Regions from separate parts of the Homo sapiens genome. Here regions 1 and 3 are each linked to region 2. Evidence: promoter capture Hi-C in human tissues and cell types (Jung and others, 2019). All regions are on one chromosome and are shown on one strand. Each heading gives the region's core, a stretch centred on a gene start or on the middle of the fragment in contact. The rest is flanking DNA. Distances are from core to core; before and after follow the strand shown.

Evidence for each region. The method cuts DNA at HindIII sites, captures the fragments that hold promoters and counts their contacts. A contact is called where the count stands out against the background at its distance.
Region 1: a contact is called between the fragment with the promoter of PTPN1 here and the fragment with the promoter of ARFGEF2 in region 2, in 1 of the 25 tissues and cell types used here (spleen).
Region 3: a contact is called between a fragment that was not itself captured here and the fragment with the promoter of ARFGEF2 in region 2, in 1 of the 25 tissues and cell types used here (dorsolateral prefrontal cortex).

The regions. Positions count from the first base shown.
Region 1 is chr20:50,508,591-50,513,302 of GRCh38, reverse strand. It overlaps PTPN1 (protein tyrosine phosphatase non-receptor type 1), which reads right to left and starts at 2,920. Exons shown (of 10, transcript NM_002827.4): 1 at 2,713-2,920. The coding sequence starts at 2,775. RefSeq lists enhancers at 2,847-2,946, 3,159-3,746 and a silencer at 3,057-3,286. The HindIII fragment of the contact is 10,222 bases long and covers 1,731-4,712 here.
Region 2 is chr20:48,919,834-48,924,602 of GRCh38, reverse strand. ARFGEF2 (ARF guanine nucleotide exchange factor 2) reads right to left here and starts at 2,892. Exons shown (of 39, transcript NM_006420.3): 1 at 2,593-2,892. The coding sequence starts at 2,713. RefSeq lists an enhancer at 2,182-2,261 and silencers at 2,632-2,681, 2,722-2,821, 3,052-3,131. The HindIII fragment of the contact is 23,689 bases long and covers 1-4,769 here.
Region 3 is chr20:47,546,949-47,551,549 of GRCh38, reverse strand. The region is part of intron 1 of NCOA3 (nuclear receptor coactivator 3); the gene reads right to left. Among named protein-coding and RNA genes, the nearest start is that of NCOA3, 47 kb to the right of the region's middle. The HindIII fragment of the contact is 5,001 bases long and covers 1-3,750 here.

The DNA.
Region 1 (4,712 bases), core at 1,671-4,170, 1.6 Mb before region 2:
GAAAGTGTTTAAATGCTAGAAAACAATGTTTAAAGCCATCTATATACACTATCAAAGCTGACTTTTTATAGACCTAGATGCTTATTAGCATCTATGCTATTCATTAGCATTAAAGATTAAAAATACGGTTATGCTCACTTTATCAAACTGACCTAGCAAAGAATCTCTGCCTAAAAAGTTTGTTTTCCAAGCTGCCACATTCCTCAGCACTCAAAAGTCCTCTTCACTCTTTGTTCTTTTCCCAATAGTTTTCAAGTTTTTACATCTTTTTGTTCTAATCAGAAAATAAGTTAGAATAACTGACCTGCTTACCAAGTTGTAAGCAAAAATTACATTATTCTCTGATCACAATAGGCTAGGCAAGCTCAAAGTATGACTTTGTATAAGGCTGCCCTCATTTCAACATGCTATAAAGTATTAATTTTTTTAAACTTCCATTTTCTATCAATTGTAAACACATTCTTTGAATCCTTGAAAAATAATGGTTTTGGTAAAGCGATACACACCTTGGAAAGTTAGCCACTTTAGACTCAAGGTCATCTGAACTCTGTTTCAGAAAACGCTACAGTTGTATGACAAAGAGCTACTTTTACACTTAGGAGAAAAGCTTCTGATTTCAAGATCTTAGAAAAGAAAAATATCCATACAGTGGAGGTGAGAAAAGCTGGCCCTGACAATTCTCTAAGACCAAAAGAAACTACCTCAGGGAATGTGGCAATCCATTAAGAAGCAGTGAAAATCTCAACACCTTGACTAACTTGTGGGGTTTAATTGTGGCAGAAAAACTTAAGAACAATGAAGGAAATGAATTGAAGACTGACACACTCCATGCTAGTTGCATGCTGAATACAATTTTAACCATGCTTGGGTGACAGGTCAACCCACTCTGGCTTAAAATTGTAAGAAATAAAATTCAACTAAGAACTAAGTTACAATACGTATTTCTTGTTGTCAACTCAGTCAATTTCAGTGGAAAAGACTTCTCTCCACAATGCTTCCACTGTGATGGGGTGTATCATAATCAACTCCAACACTTCAGACCAACAATTTTCATTTAAAGACATTTTAGACTCTACTGCATTAAACTGATGCAGAAAATTTGTCTACACAGTCTCAAAGTCCCTTATGGAATTCATTCAGCTAATTCAGAGACCAGATATGGCATACAAATTTTATATACTGATCAATCATACTTATTAGTATATAGATTACAGTGGTTAGAAATATTAGTCTAGCAGAAACTAATATACACACTACAGTCCAAATAAAAAGAATCCTGTCAAATAAGCTTGATGTAAATCCACATGAAAATCAAGGCTGCCAAAAAAAAAGGCTTTTGTTAGTCAAGCATACCAAAGAACTGCTTAAACCTTTTTTCCTTTCTAAGCGGAGCTCAAAATAGATTTTAATACTACAGCTGATGGATCTCACAATTTGCCTTTTGAGCCTATAAGCTGAAAACAGAATCATCTGCTGTCTCCCTTTACACAAGTAACAAAATCTCTCTATTCTGTATATCGCTTATTTAAGATACTGTGCAAGTGTGGTTTTAGTTAATCTTAACAACCCCCGCAATGACATTTAATTGGGAGTATGTATCTTATTCAGCTGCTTGTGAAAGGAAGAGCTCTTTGTGTTTTTAACTACTTGTTTTATAGATATATGAGAAACCCTCCTTTCCTAACTTTTTAACACACAAGGAGATGACTCCTAAGACAAGGTCATCTCTGCCACGACCAAAGACTAAGCTGCTCATTGAGGAAAGATGCTATTTTAGAGAGGGTTAAAACGTTAACCTTCCTGAGTCCCTGCCTGAAAGAATAATATCATGGCCCCAATGGAGTGGGTACCGCAGGCCTCCTGGCTAGAAGGTTCTTTAGCCCCATATTCTCACGGCTTTCTGCTCCTCTTGGTTCAGCTCACAAAGCAAATGTCTCCTCCTTTGACAGGCCTTCCCTGATCCCCTTCTCTAAGACAGCCGGCCTTCTATGCAGTCACCCTGTACCCCGTTAGGAAGTCGTTCTCTTCACAGCACCTGTCACTATCTGAAATTATTTGCTTTTGTGTTTGATTGCCCTATTCGACTCTAGGCCCCACTAAGGCTAGGATCTTGCCTGTCCTGATTAGCAAACACCACCTCCAATGCCTAAGCGGTGCCTAGCACAGAATAAGCTTGCCAACTCCTATCCAATAAATGAATGAACAGAAAGGGGAAAGGGGACTGTCATCTCTGGGACTCGACGCACACTGAGACTAGGGGAAAGGAAATGTGAAGGAGGGACGGGGGGAGTAACCTTTTCCCCCAGGGAGACAAAGGAAGAGAGTCTGAGGTGGTCCACTCCAGAAAAGGAAATAGTGGGGGTGCTAAATCACCCCAGGGGACAAAGAGTGGACAGGCAGGGGGCGGGGTCGGGGTGCGAGGGATTCGCGTTGAGAGCACAGACCGGCGGTCCCCCGGCTTGAGAGATCACCCGAGCTGGAGAACAGAAGGGAGGTGGGGGATCGAAGGGGGCTCCGACGCTGCGGCGAGAAACACGCCCGCCCCGGGGACAAAGGGTGGGGGGACGCAGTGCGTCGCTGTCCCATCGAATCCTCAAGCAGTAGGAGCGAGGCAGAGGGCAAGACCCAGAGGGAGTCTGGGGCCTGGAGGTCTGAGGGGATGTTCAAGCGGCCTAAGCGAAGGGCCCGCCACGCTCCGGGGCGCTCCCGCACCTGGTAAATGGCCGCCCAGCTCCCGGACTTGTCGATCTGCTCGAACTCCTTTTCCATCTCCATGACGGGCCAGGGCGGCTGCTGCGCCTCCTTCTCGGCCCACTGCGCCGTCTGCCGCTCTAGGCCGCGTCGCGCTCTTAGCCCCGAGGCCCGCTGCAATCCCCGACCCCTGCAGCTACCGCCGCCCTAGCCGCTGCTGCTTCTTCATGTCAACCGGCAGCCGGAACTACGCATCACGCCTGCCAGGGGCTCCGCCCCTGAAGCAGAAGGACCAATCAGCGATCGAGAATTTCGACAAGCACTTCCGCGGGGAGGAGCCGGGGGCGGTGCTAGGGGAAGTGGCCCCAGCACCGCGAGATATCTAATAGCGCGCGTTCCCTCCTCCGCTTTGGGGCTCTGGGCTCGGGCGCGGCGCGCGCCTGTTGCCTAGGCGACCCCGGGAGCCCCGCCCACGGCGCGTGGGCTCTCCAGGCCCGGGAGGGCATTGAGTTCCAGCCCCGACCCGGCCCGTTGAGTCACAGAGTGAGTGGCCTTAAAGTAGTCATGCACCTCCTTTCCTGCAGGGCCTGGGCCCCAGCCTCAGTAATCCAAGCTGGAGTATGGGAGGAGGGCACCGTGCTCTATTTCCTGCCTCCCAGCTCTGGCCAGATGTCTGCCCTTTTTTCATGAAACTCAGGAGTATCATGTTTCACTACGCTGCTGGGGAAGCCCACTGCTCTCTAAGGGTAGTGTCCCTGTCTGAAACGCAGAATTTCCACTTGGGTGCTGCAGGAATGAATGGATGGGGATGGAATGATTTTCAGTGTTTCCCGAAGTATCAAGGAACTCCTGCTCAGACTGAACTAAGCAGAGCACAAATTCCATGGTGCATTATGTTAAATAAAAATCATAGGAGCCCAGGCGCGGTGGCTTACATCTGTAATCCCAGCACTTTGGGAGGCAGAGGCAGGCGGATGTCTTGAGGCCAGGAGTTCCAGACCAGCCTGGGTAACAGAATCAGACCTCGTCACTACTAAAAGTTAAAAAATTAGCCGGTGTGGTGGGGCCCAGCTGCTGGGGAGGCTGAGGCAGGAAGATCACCTGAGCCCAGGAGGTGGAAGCTGCAGTGAGCTGTTTTGGCGCCACTGCACTCCACCTTGGGTGGCAGAGAGAGACCCTGTCTTGAAAAAAAAGGGCTGGGTGTGGTGGCTCACACCTGTAATCCCAGCACTTTGGGAGACCGACGCAGGTGGATCACCTGAGGTCAAGAGTCCGAGACCAGCCTGACCAACATGGTGAAACTCGGTTTCTGCTAAAAAAAAAAAAAAAAAAAAAAATTAGCCGGGCGTGGTGGCGCATGCCTGTAATCCCAGCTACTTGGGAGGCTGAGGCAGGAGAATCGCTTGAACCCTGGAGGCAGAGGTTGCAGTGAGCCAAGATAGCTCCACTGCACTCCAGCCTGGGCAACAAGAGCGAAACAAACAAACAAAAAAAGTTCTGGCATTAGGGTCTCAACAGACTAGACTAAAAATCAAAATGGAGTCACTCATGCTAAAGTTCTACATCATCAGACTGATAACCTTTCACAAAATCAGAAGAGAGATACACACCCTGATTTCCCAAGCAGACCGTTTTAATCAACATAATGAAGTTCCCTTTGCTTTAATCCTTACAACAAAAAGTAACCTGAAGTAACCCGATGCGACCAATCAGTTATTTCTCTCTTGTTCTGTTTCCCTGTTCCTGCCTTACAAGGAAAGTAACTTTGAAATGACCAATCTGCTTTTTGTTCTTTGTTTCTGCTTTTTTCAGCCCTTTTCTGTCTATAAAACCAACCTCCTCTGCTCAGCTCATTGGGACACTTGTGCTATTTTGAGGAATGAAGTCTTGCCCGATTCTAGAATCATGAATGAAGCCAATTAAGATGTTTAAGTTTGTTGTAATTTTGTCTTTTGACATTTACGGTCACCTGGGAAGTGTGTTGAATAATGCAGGTTCCTGGACCCATCGCCAAATGATTC
Region 2 (4,769 bases), core at 1,643-4,142:
ACAACAATCTATACATGGTAATCTCTAAAATACCACATAGCTGCTCCTTATACACTGGCTCGTTTCAGCCTTTTTTTTTTTTTTTTTTTTTGAGACAGAGTCTTGTTTTGTCGCCCAGGCTGGAGTGCAGTGGCGCAATCTCAGCTCACTGCAAGCTCCACCTCCTGGGTTCACGCCATTCTCCTGCCTCAGCCTCCCGAGTAGGTGGGACTACAGGTGCCCGCCACAGCGCCCAGCTAATTTTTTTTGTTATTTTTAGTAGAGGCGGGGTTTCACCGTGTTAGCCAGGATGGTTTCGATCTCCTGACCTCGTGATCTGCCTGCCTCAGCCTCCTAAAGTGCTGGGATTACAGGCGTGAGCCACCGCACCTGGCCCCAAATTTCTCTTCTTAAATGGGACTACTGGACACAAGACTGGGCCTTGAGAGACAGAGAGAAATATCACCAGGCATTCTGCTATGTGTTCTACTCTAAGTAAAAGCAGTCATTTCTATTTAACAGCAATGACACACAATTATTCTCTTAAAAAAGATGGTCACTTAACAATATGCATACGTTCCCTTATGACAGTTCCTATTATGCCATTGGCACAACCCCAATTTGTGATTCATATAACCTGTAGTCAAATTACTTCCTATCTAGGCCATTTTTTACAATTCACTACTAAAAACTGAAAACATGCATTCCACTACTTGTGTTAGGAAAACTTGAACTTCTGAACAAAGATACGATCCGAAAATATCTATTAAATTCTCAGCGTTAATGGCCCTTCATGACCCAGATGAAAATTTTATAAGTAGGTTCCAATAATATGATGCACACTTTGGTGAAAATTTTATGTTAAGAAGTTTTCTGAAGAAAAAATAAAAACTCTTCTGCCAAATAACTATTCTGAAACCTCCACAACAATATCGAGAAGATAGAGTCCAGGCAGATTTCAACGTGGAGTTATAAATACCAGGCTCTTGCCTAACAAACTGCTTTGCAGTGCTTATCCCACATTGCTGATAAAATACCCAACAGCCTTGGTTATTGGAAGAGAAAAGCTTTAAAAATCTACATCTCAGTAAATTCCTTCCACTGATCCTGAATTTCACGGACTAGCAACTGTTTCCAGATTATCTAGACTACCACCTCTGCATCAATAGTTGGCCCCTGAGGGAGTCTCAGGGCCCTCTGAAAATCTGATGAAAGCCAGGGACCTTCTTTCCAGGGAAGTGCAAAGTTCACCAGCCTATTTCTAAATGCCAAAAGAACACTACTCTATACTTTGTAGCAAATGAAAGGAGAAAGGTGATAACAATCTCAAACTATGTGACTAAAAATCAAACTTTCCATTTGCTCATTTTGTTAGGAAAAACAGGCCTTTACAGATTCCAAACCAAAGACGTTGGGGCAGTGAATTAGCTTGAAAACAGCTCTGGTCAAATGCATGGATTCTCCCACCAAGAACTCTCTTCTGAAACTCCATATGGTGGATAGTTCTTGCCTTTCAGTATTCAGCTCAAGTGTCACCCTCTTGGAAAAGATTACTTTCCTGACCACCTGATTACTTTTCCTCTTGGAAAAGATTACTTTCCTGACCATGGAAAGCAGTCCTCAAGCCCTCTTTATCACATCTTGCTGTTTTATTTTCAAAATAGTATTTATCAGTATTCCAAAATACCTCACCTATTTTCTTAATTAATTATTTTGTCTCCTCTATTCGAGTATAAGCTCCATAGGGGTAAGGACCATGTCCGTCTTGTTCCCCACTGAATTCTCAGTACCTGGTATGCAGTGGGCACTTGATAAATATTTGTTAAATGATTAAAACTGAAAGATAGGATAGTGATTTTGCTATCAATTATCAAGCCTTTAACTATTAGTTAGAATTCTCCCTCTTTCCATAATCTGAGGGTCCATTCAATCAGCAAATATTTATCGAGCACCTACTGTGCGCCAGGCACTGTTGCAAGCGCAAGGGATACAGCAATGAATAAGTCAGACAAGTATCTTCGCGCTGAAGACCTTGTATTTTAGTGGACTGCTAGGAATAAGCAGATGTCTTGCTCACTACAATGCCTGGGAGATCCAGAACACCTTCTACAATCCTTCCTTGAGGGAAAGAGCTATGGGAGATCCCCAAACCAAAGGAAAACATTCTCCAACGGGCACTTCCAAAACAAGAATCAGGGGTTTCCCTAAACCAGTTGGACGGCTCTTCCTACATGCTCTGTTCACCTAGGGGAACCCCAATCAGCAGAGCTCAGGTAACGAAAAAACTTGGGGCAAGGGCTACTGTTTCTAGGACTTGGAGGTGGTGAGGGGAGGAACCAGGAAACAGGGCGACAAGGAATCGTGGCAAAAGCCCTGAGCTGGAACCCTGAGGAACAAGCTCTGGTTGTCACCAACTTGCTAGGTGACCTTGGGCCAGTCCCGAGCTGCCCGGGCAACACTTCCTCCGGGGGTATAATGAGGAGGAGGCCGGAAGGGTGGAATTCGGGATCGGGGGGAAGCGGAGGCCAGGAGGCCGGGCCAAGGCCGAGTAGGATAGGGCAACGGCCGACGTGCTGAGGCCAGCGCGGGGCAGGGCGGGAGCGGCTCACCCACCGAGCGCCACCTGGCAGGCCCTGCGCAGCTGGGAGTGCTGGGGCCGCTTCACCTCCTTGTCGGCTAGGATCTTCTCCAGGGCCCGGGACACGAACATGCTCTTGGTCTGGCTCTCCTGCATGGCCCCGGCCCGGCGGGGGCTGACGGCCCCGCGGGCGGGCGGCGTGAGCGAGATGGCGAGCTAGGCTGCGGGCCCGGCGTCCCGGCCGGCACCGGCCGCGTCCGTCCGCGCCGCCCCGTCAGGAAGCGACACCTCGGCCCCACGGCGCCGCCATGTTGGAGCGCGTCACGTGACCACGTGACTGGCGAGGCCGCTACGGCCGCCTAGCGTCCGTCGGCCCCGTGACCCCCAGCGGGGCGGAGCCTAAGGCTGGGGGCGGAGCGGAGTCAGGTGGGCGAGAGACAGAAGGCGAGGGTGGAGGGTGGAAGAAGAGAAGGTGGGGAGGGGAGTGGGCATGGGCGAAGGGTATAGGGGACGCGGGGGCTAAAGAAAGGCGAAAGCGGGGAGAGGTGGTGATGGAGATGAGAGGAGAGAAGCGCAAGGTAACGGGAGGTGAAGGGGAGCACGAGAATGGAGATGACGTGGGTAAGAGAGGAGATGAGGAAAGGAAGGGGAACGAGAGGATTGGCAAAAAAGAACGGTGACAAGGAGAGATGATAAAGGGGCAGGAGGAGAAGGCGAGTAGGAAAGAAAAGAGGTGAGGGAGCGAGGACTGGAAGCTGGTGAATGAATGAGAAGTGATCGGGAGTAAGGGGCGTCAGGAGGAAGGAGGAAGGGCGATGAGAAGGCGGCGGCGGAGGGGAAGGGGGGAGGCCCGGCGCGGCGGCTCACGCCTCTAATCCCAGCGCTTCCGGAGGCCAAGGCGGGAGCATCGCTTGAGCCCAGGAGTTCGAGACCAGCCTGGGCAACATAGGGAGACCCTTTCTCTACAAAATAAAAAGTAAAACAGCCGGGCCTGGTGGCGCTGCTTGTGGTCCCAGCTACTGGGGAGGCTGAGGTGGGAGGATCGCTTGAGCCTCGGAGGTTGAGGCCGCAGTGAGCTGTGATGGCACCACTGCACTCCAGCCTGGGCCACAGAAGGAGACCCTGTCTCAAAAAACAAACAAACAAAAAGGAGGTGAGTTAGTTATGGAGGAGATGAGGTGGTGTGGGAAGAGGTGAGAGGGAGGCACAGAGGTAAAAGAAAAAGGAGAAAGACAGGAGGGAGAGGGGAAGTGAAAAGGAAAGAGAGGTAGAAATGAGAGGAGGGGAAAGAGTAGGAGAAAGGGTGAAGGGAGAGGAGGTAGGAAGGGGAGCTGTCAGGAAGAACAGAAAAGAAAGAAAAAGATGAGAGTAACAAGTTAGGAAAACAGGAAAGAGATGGAAAAAGGAATGGTGTAGGAAGGAGGTGAAGGGGAAGGAGGTGAGGAAGAGTGGAAAGAACATGCTGGGAGAATAGGAAATGGAAGGGGTGGAGGGAGAGGGGAGGTGAAAGGAAGACAGAGAGGGAGAGAGAGAAGGTGTGTTTATGTCTATTCTCCACAAGCAGGGTTTCACCACAGCCACTGGCAAGATACACACATCCATATGACCCTCCTGTCACAGCAGCAGTGACCTTGCAGTTCAGTGAACTTCTGTTTATTGAGTGTCGCAGCTGTGCATAGTATACCAGGAAGCACTGACCTCTCTCTGTAGTTTATCCTGTTATAAACCTGTGAACCCTCACAGTGCAGTGAACTGGACCTGGGCTTTGGGAGTCAGGGGAAGAAACCCAGATGGCCAGTGTCACACAGCCTGCAAATGAGTGCTGGGGGACAGATACTCTGGCCCCAAGGCAGCTTCCACTCCATTCCACAATGATGCTATCACAGCAACCATTAGTGGTGTCCCCTGGGCCCCTTCCCCCAAGGGCAGCCATGGGCTTATGCAAAGACAGTTGTCTTCCTTGGAAACCTCAGAGGCACAGACATCCCAGGCAGGCATGCTCCAGTGCTCGGGTCTTAGCTCAGACGTCTCTGGGAAGCCTTCCCTGACCTGTCTCAAGTAGCCCCCTCTCTCCCTAGCTGATGTTTTCCACAGCACTTTCTGAGCTTTTGTACGTGTTGACTATTTGTTGTCTCACTAAAGCACGGTTGCAGAGGGGCAGGCCATATCCCCAGGGCCCGGTCTACAGTCACGTTGAATATTTCATGGCCTT
Region 3 (4,601 bases), core at 1-2,500, 1.4 Mb after region 2:
AAATTTCAAATACAAAATATGCATTTGTAATTCTGTTTATAAAAACACGAAATGTAAAGATCTTTAGTGTGTACAGTTATACGTCTTTGCTTCAGACATAAATTAAGTTGGTTGTTGTAGAAAGTCTACTGCTTGAAAGATGGGAATGTGTCAATTCAGGGAACGTGTCATTACATCACCAACACAGCCAGCACGGAGCCTGACAACAAACAGGTACCAAAGGACTTGAATGTTTTTGCTCAAGTACCTACCAGAAGATTCTTGAAAAACTATGGGCCCCAGAACATTTGCAAGTTGACATTTAAATTTTTCATCAATTTAGTTACGAAGTAGTCACTTCCAAGATATTATGAGCATTAGCATTTTAATAAGGTGTTATATCACTCTTACATATTGAAAAGAACCTAGATCATCTCCAAGTCAGAAATTCTACAACTCTTCCTTTCTCCTGAAATATAAAATTTCCGTTCTTCTTCCCCAGAATTTAATCATGAGGAAATGCCATTTTATGCTTGAATGTATTTTATTATCCTATATCTGAAAAAAGATATATAAACTGAAATAATTAAATTCCATCTGATCATAAGGTCTAAGTATTGAAAAACATCTTATTCTGAGTTACTATGATCATTATTAGGATGTAATTGTTCAAAACATAAACATATTACAAATTTGGGTAATATATACATAAAAATACACTTTTCACTGTCAGTGAATCTGTTCGCTACAATGAGCAAGATGTTTTGTCCTTCTCCCACCACTGACATGCACTCATTTTTTGTAAGATTAAAATGTGCTGACATAAGTAGATTAAATACATGGAAGGAGTTATGTGAAAGCGATGTCATTCAATTCTTTCAGTATAATCTTAATTACATGATAAGAGTCTCAGTGAACTACCATCAAAAATTATGTTTTCATGATCTCTCAGAGAGCAATTTGATTAACTTCCACCTCAATTCTGATGAAAACACACTTAGAAACCAACTAATAGGTCGTTTGTTAATCAGTCATTGAGAGTCATTCACTTGTTAAACTCTGACACCAGTATTTCTAATTGCCCATGTGTTTCAAACCCCCCCACCTTTTTTTTTTTTTTTTTTCTGAGACGGAGTTTTGCTCTTGTTGCCCAGGCTGGAGTGCAATGGCACGATCTCAGCTCACAGCAACCTCTGCCTCCCGGATTCAAGCAATTCTCCTGCCTCAGCCTCCCGAGTAGCTGAGATTACAGGCATGTGCCTCCATGCCCGACTAATTTTGTATTTTTAGTAGAGATGGGGTTTCTCCATGTTGGTCAGGTTGGTCTCAAACTCCCAACCTCAGGTCATTTGCCCACCTCGGCCTCCCAAAGTGCCGGGATTACAGGTGTGAGCCACCGCGCCTGGACTTCAAACCCTTTTAAAAAAAAAAAAAAATTGAAATACAACACAGTAAAACGGGAGACTTCTTACTTCTTTTGGCAGTTAGAAGAATAATTGTAAAAAGAGACATCTGGAGAATAAGGCTCTGCAAGCTTTCTCAGGCCAACTTAAAAAGTTAAAAGAACAGCCAGCACAGTGGCTCACGCCTGTAATCCCAGCACTCTGGGAGGCCCAGGTAGGCAGACTGCTTGAGCTCAGGAGTTTGAGACCAGCCTAAGCAACATGGTGAAATCATGTCTCTACAAAAAATTACAAAAATTAGCCAGGCATGGTGGTGGCGTGCGCCTGTAGTCCCAGCTATTTAAGAAGCTAAGGTGGGAGGATTTCTTGAGCCTGGGAGGTAGAGGCTGCAATAAGCCTTGATTGTGCCACTACACTCCAGCCTGGTGACAGAGGAAGACTCTGTCCCCAAAAAAGAGAAGAAAGAAGAAGAATTTAAGAGAACAAAGGTTTGTGAATCTGCAAACCTGGAAACTGATCTCATTAAATCATCTGTGCTCAAGCCTCTAGATCCAACCACCACCAATTTATACAAAATACAGAAGACTTTTTTTTTTTTTTTTTTTTTGAGACAGAGTCTTCGCTCTGTTGCCCAGGATGGAGTGCAGCAGACAGATCATAGTTTGCTGTAGCCTCAACCTCCTGGTCTCAAGTGATTGCCATGTCTCAGCCTTCCGGGTAGCTGGGACCGCAGGTACCTGTCATCCTGTGCCCAGATAAATTTTTTTTTAACCACATCATGCCCAGCTAATTTTTTTTTTTAATTTTTTGTCAATCTGGGGTCTTGCCATGTTGCCCAGGCTGGCCTCAAACTCCTGGGCTTAAGTGATCCTCTCACCTCAGCCTCCCAATGTGCTGGCATTACAGGCAAGAGCTGCTGCACCAGGCCTAAAAACTTTTTTATTACAAAGTTAATACATGTTCTCCATAGGTGATACAAAATTAAGGATAGTTAAGTCCATGATGGCTCAGGACTGTAATCTAACACTTTTGGAGGCTGAGGTGGGAGGATCACTTGAGCCCAAGAGCTCGAGACCACCCTAGGCAACGTGGTGAGACCCCCATCTCTACAAAAAATTTAAAAAATGTTTTAAATACAGTTTTTACATCTTTGAAGTTTATGCATTACATCCAATCCAAACCAAGAAAACACTAATTTAACAAATGTTCTCAATAATAATAATTCACTATTAATTTTTAAAATTCATTAAATGGTATTTTTAGGAGACCCTTTAAAATGCTATTGATTTTATCATATTCACCAAATGAAGACCTCACAGATATTATTTCACATCTTGTGCCTAACAGCAGTACGCAGAACAGAGTGGCCCTTCTTGGGGAGACTACACAGTAAACCATCATGACATAATTAATCCTTTCTAGATTACTGCAACTCTACTGATTTGCTGAAACAGAATAAAAACATTGAGAAGGCATAATATACATGCACACTTTTTTAAAAGCATTTCTCAATTGCATGTTAATGTCTATCGACATGTACCACCCCTTCTTCTCAAACTGCCACTGAAAATGCAGTAAAAAAGATTTTTTTTTAATTTTTATTTTTATTTTATTTTATTTTTTGAGATGGAGTTTCACTCTTGCCACCCAGGCTGGAGTGCAGTGGCATGATCTCAGCTCACTCCAACCTCTGCCTCCCAGGTTCAAGTGATTCTCCTGCCTCAGCCTCCCGAGTAGCTGAGATTACAGGCGCCTGCCACCATGCCCAGCTAATTTTTTGTATTTTTAGTAGAGACGGGGTTTCGCCATGTTGGGCTGGCTGGTCTGGAACTCCTGACCTCAGGTGATCTGCCTGCCTCAACCTCCCAAAGTGCTGGGATTACAGGTGTGGGCCACCGCACCTGGCCTAGAATGAATTTTTTTTTTTTAAAGGAACCTTTTTTTATTAGGCTTAGAGAGTAAGAAAACAAATAAGAAATTCTCTTATATATATGACAGGTGGTAACTCACAATTCCTCTATATTAACAAATCACCCTAACTTTATTTAACCAATTTCAGAGTCAACTTCCATCTTAAATGGATTTCTAGAAACAGTTCCAGCCTAAAGAGACGGGAAGCTAAAATAAAACCAACAAAGGCTGAGCATGGTGGCTCACACCTATAATCCCAGCACTTTGGGAGGTCGAGGCAGGTGGATAACCTGAGGTCAGGAGTTCAAGACCAGCCTGGCCAACTTGGTAAACCCCATCTTTATTAAAAATAAAAATAAAATAAAATAAAATAATTAGCAGGGGGTGGTGGCAGGCGCCTGTAATCCTAGCTACTCGGGAGGCTAAGGCACGACAATCGCTTGAACCCAGGAGGTGGAGGTTGCAGTGAGCTGAGATCATGCCACTGCACTTCAGTCTGGGTGACAGAGCGACACTCCATCTCAAAAAATAACAAAACGGGCCGGGCGCGGTGGCTCATGCCTGTAATCCCAGCACTTTGGGAGGCCGAGGCGGGTGGATCACGAGGTCAGGAGATCGAGACTATCCTGGCTAATGTGGTGAAACCCTGTCTCTACTAAAAACACACACACAAAAAATTAGTCGGGCATGGTGATGGGCGCCTGTAGTCCCAGCTACTCAGGAGGCTGAGGCAGGAGAATGGTGTGAACCCGGGAGGTGGAGCTTGCAGTAAGCCGAGATCGCACCACTGCACTCTAGCCTGGGTGGCAGAGCGAGACTCCGTCTAAAATAATAATAATAATAATAATAATATAAAAATAAAATAAAATCAACAAAAACTAGGAACTTTCCTAAAGTACTCCCACCACAGGGTTTAAAGAGAAACGATATGCTGTGACCCAGAAAAACATCTTAACGCCACAGATGGGGTAAGAGAAGGGCTTTAGGACGTCACCCTTTCAAGGAAATACAGAGTGTGTTTATTCACTCGACAAATGAATGATGAACATCTACCATATGCCAGACACCTACCTAAGTGTTTGAGATATGTCAGTGAGCAATGGGGACTAGGATTCTTGTTCTTGTGGAGCATATGCTTTATAATTAAACACAATAAATAAGTAAAGTATTAATATATTAGAGCATTAGTGCTATAAGGTCAGAGGTTCCGGTATTAAATAGGGTGGTAAGGGTGGGCCTCATTAAGAGTGTAAGAATTGAGACTTTAAAGAGATGAGGAACTTAATCAGACATATGACAGAAACATTC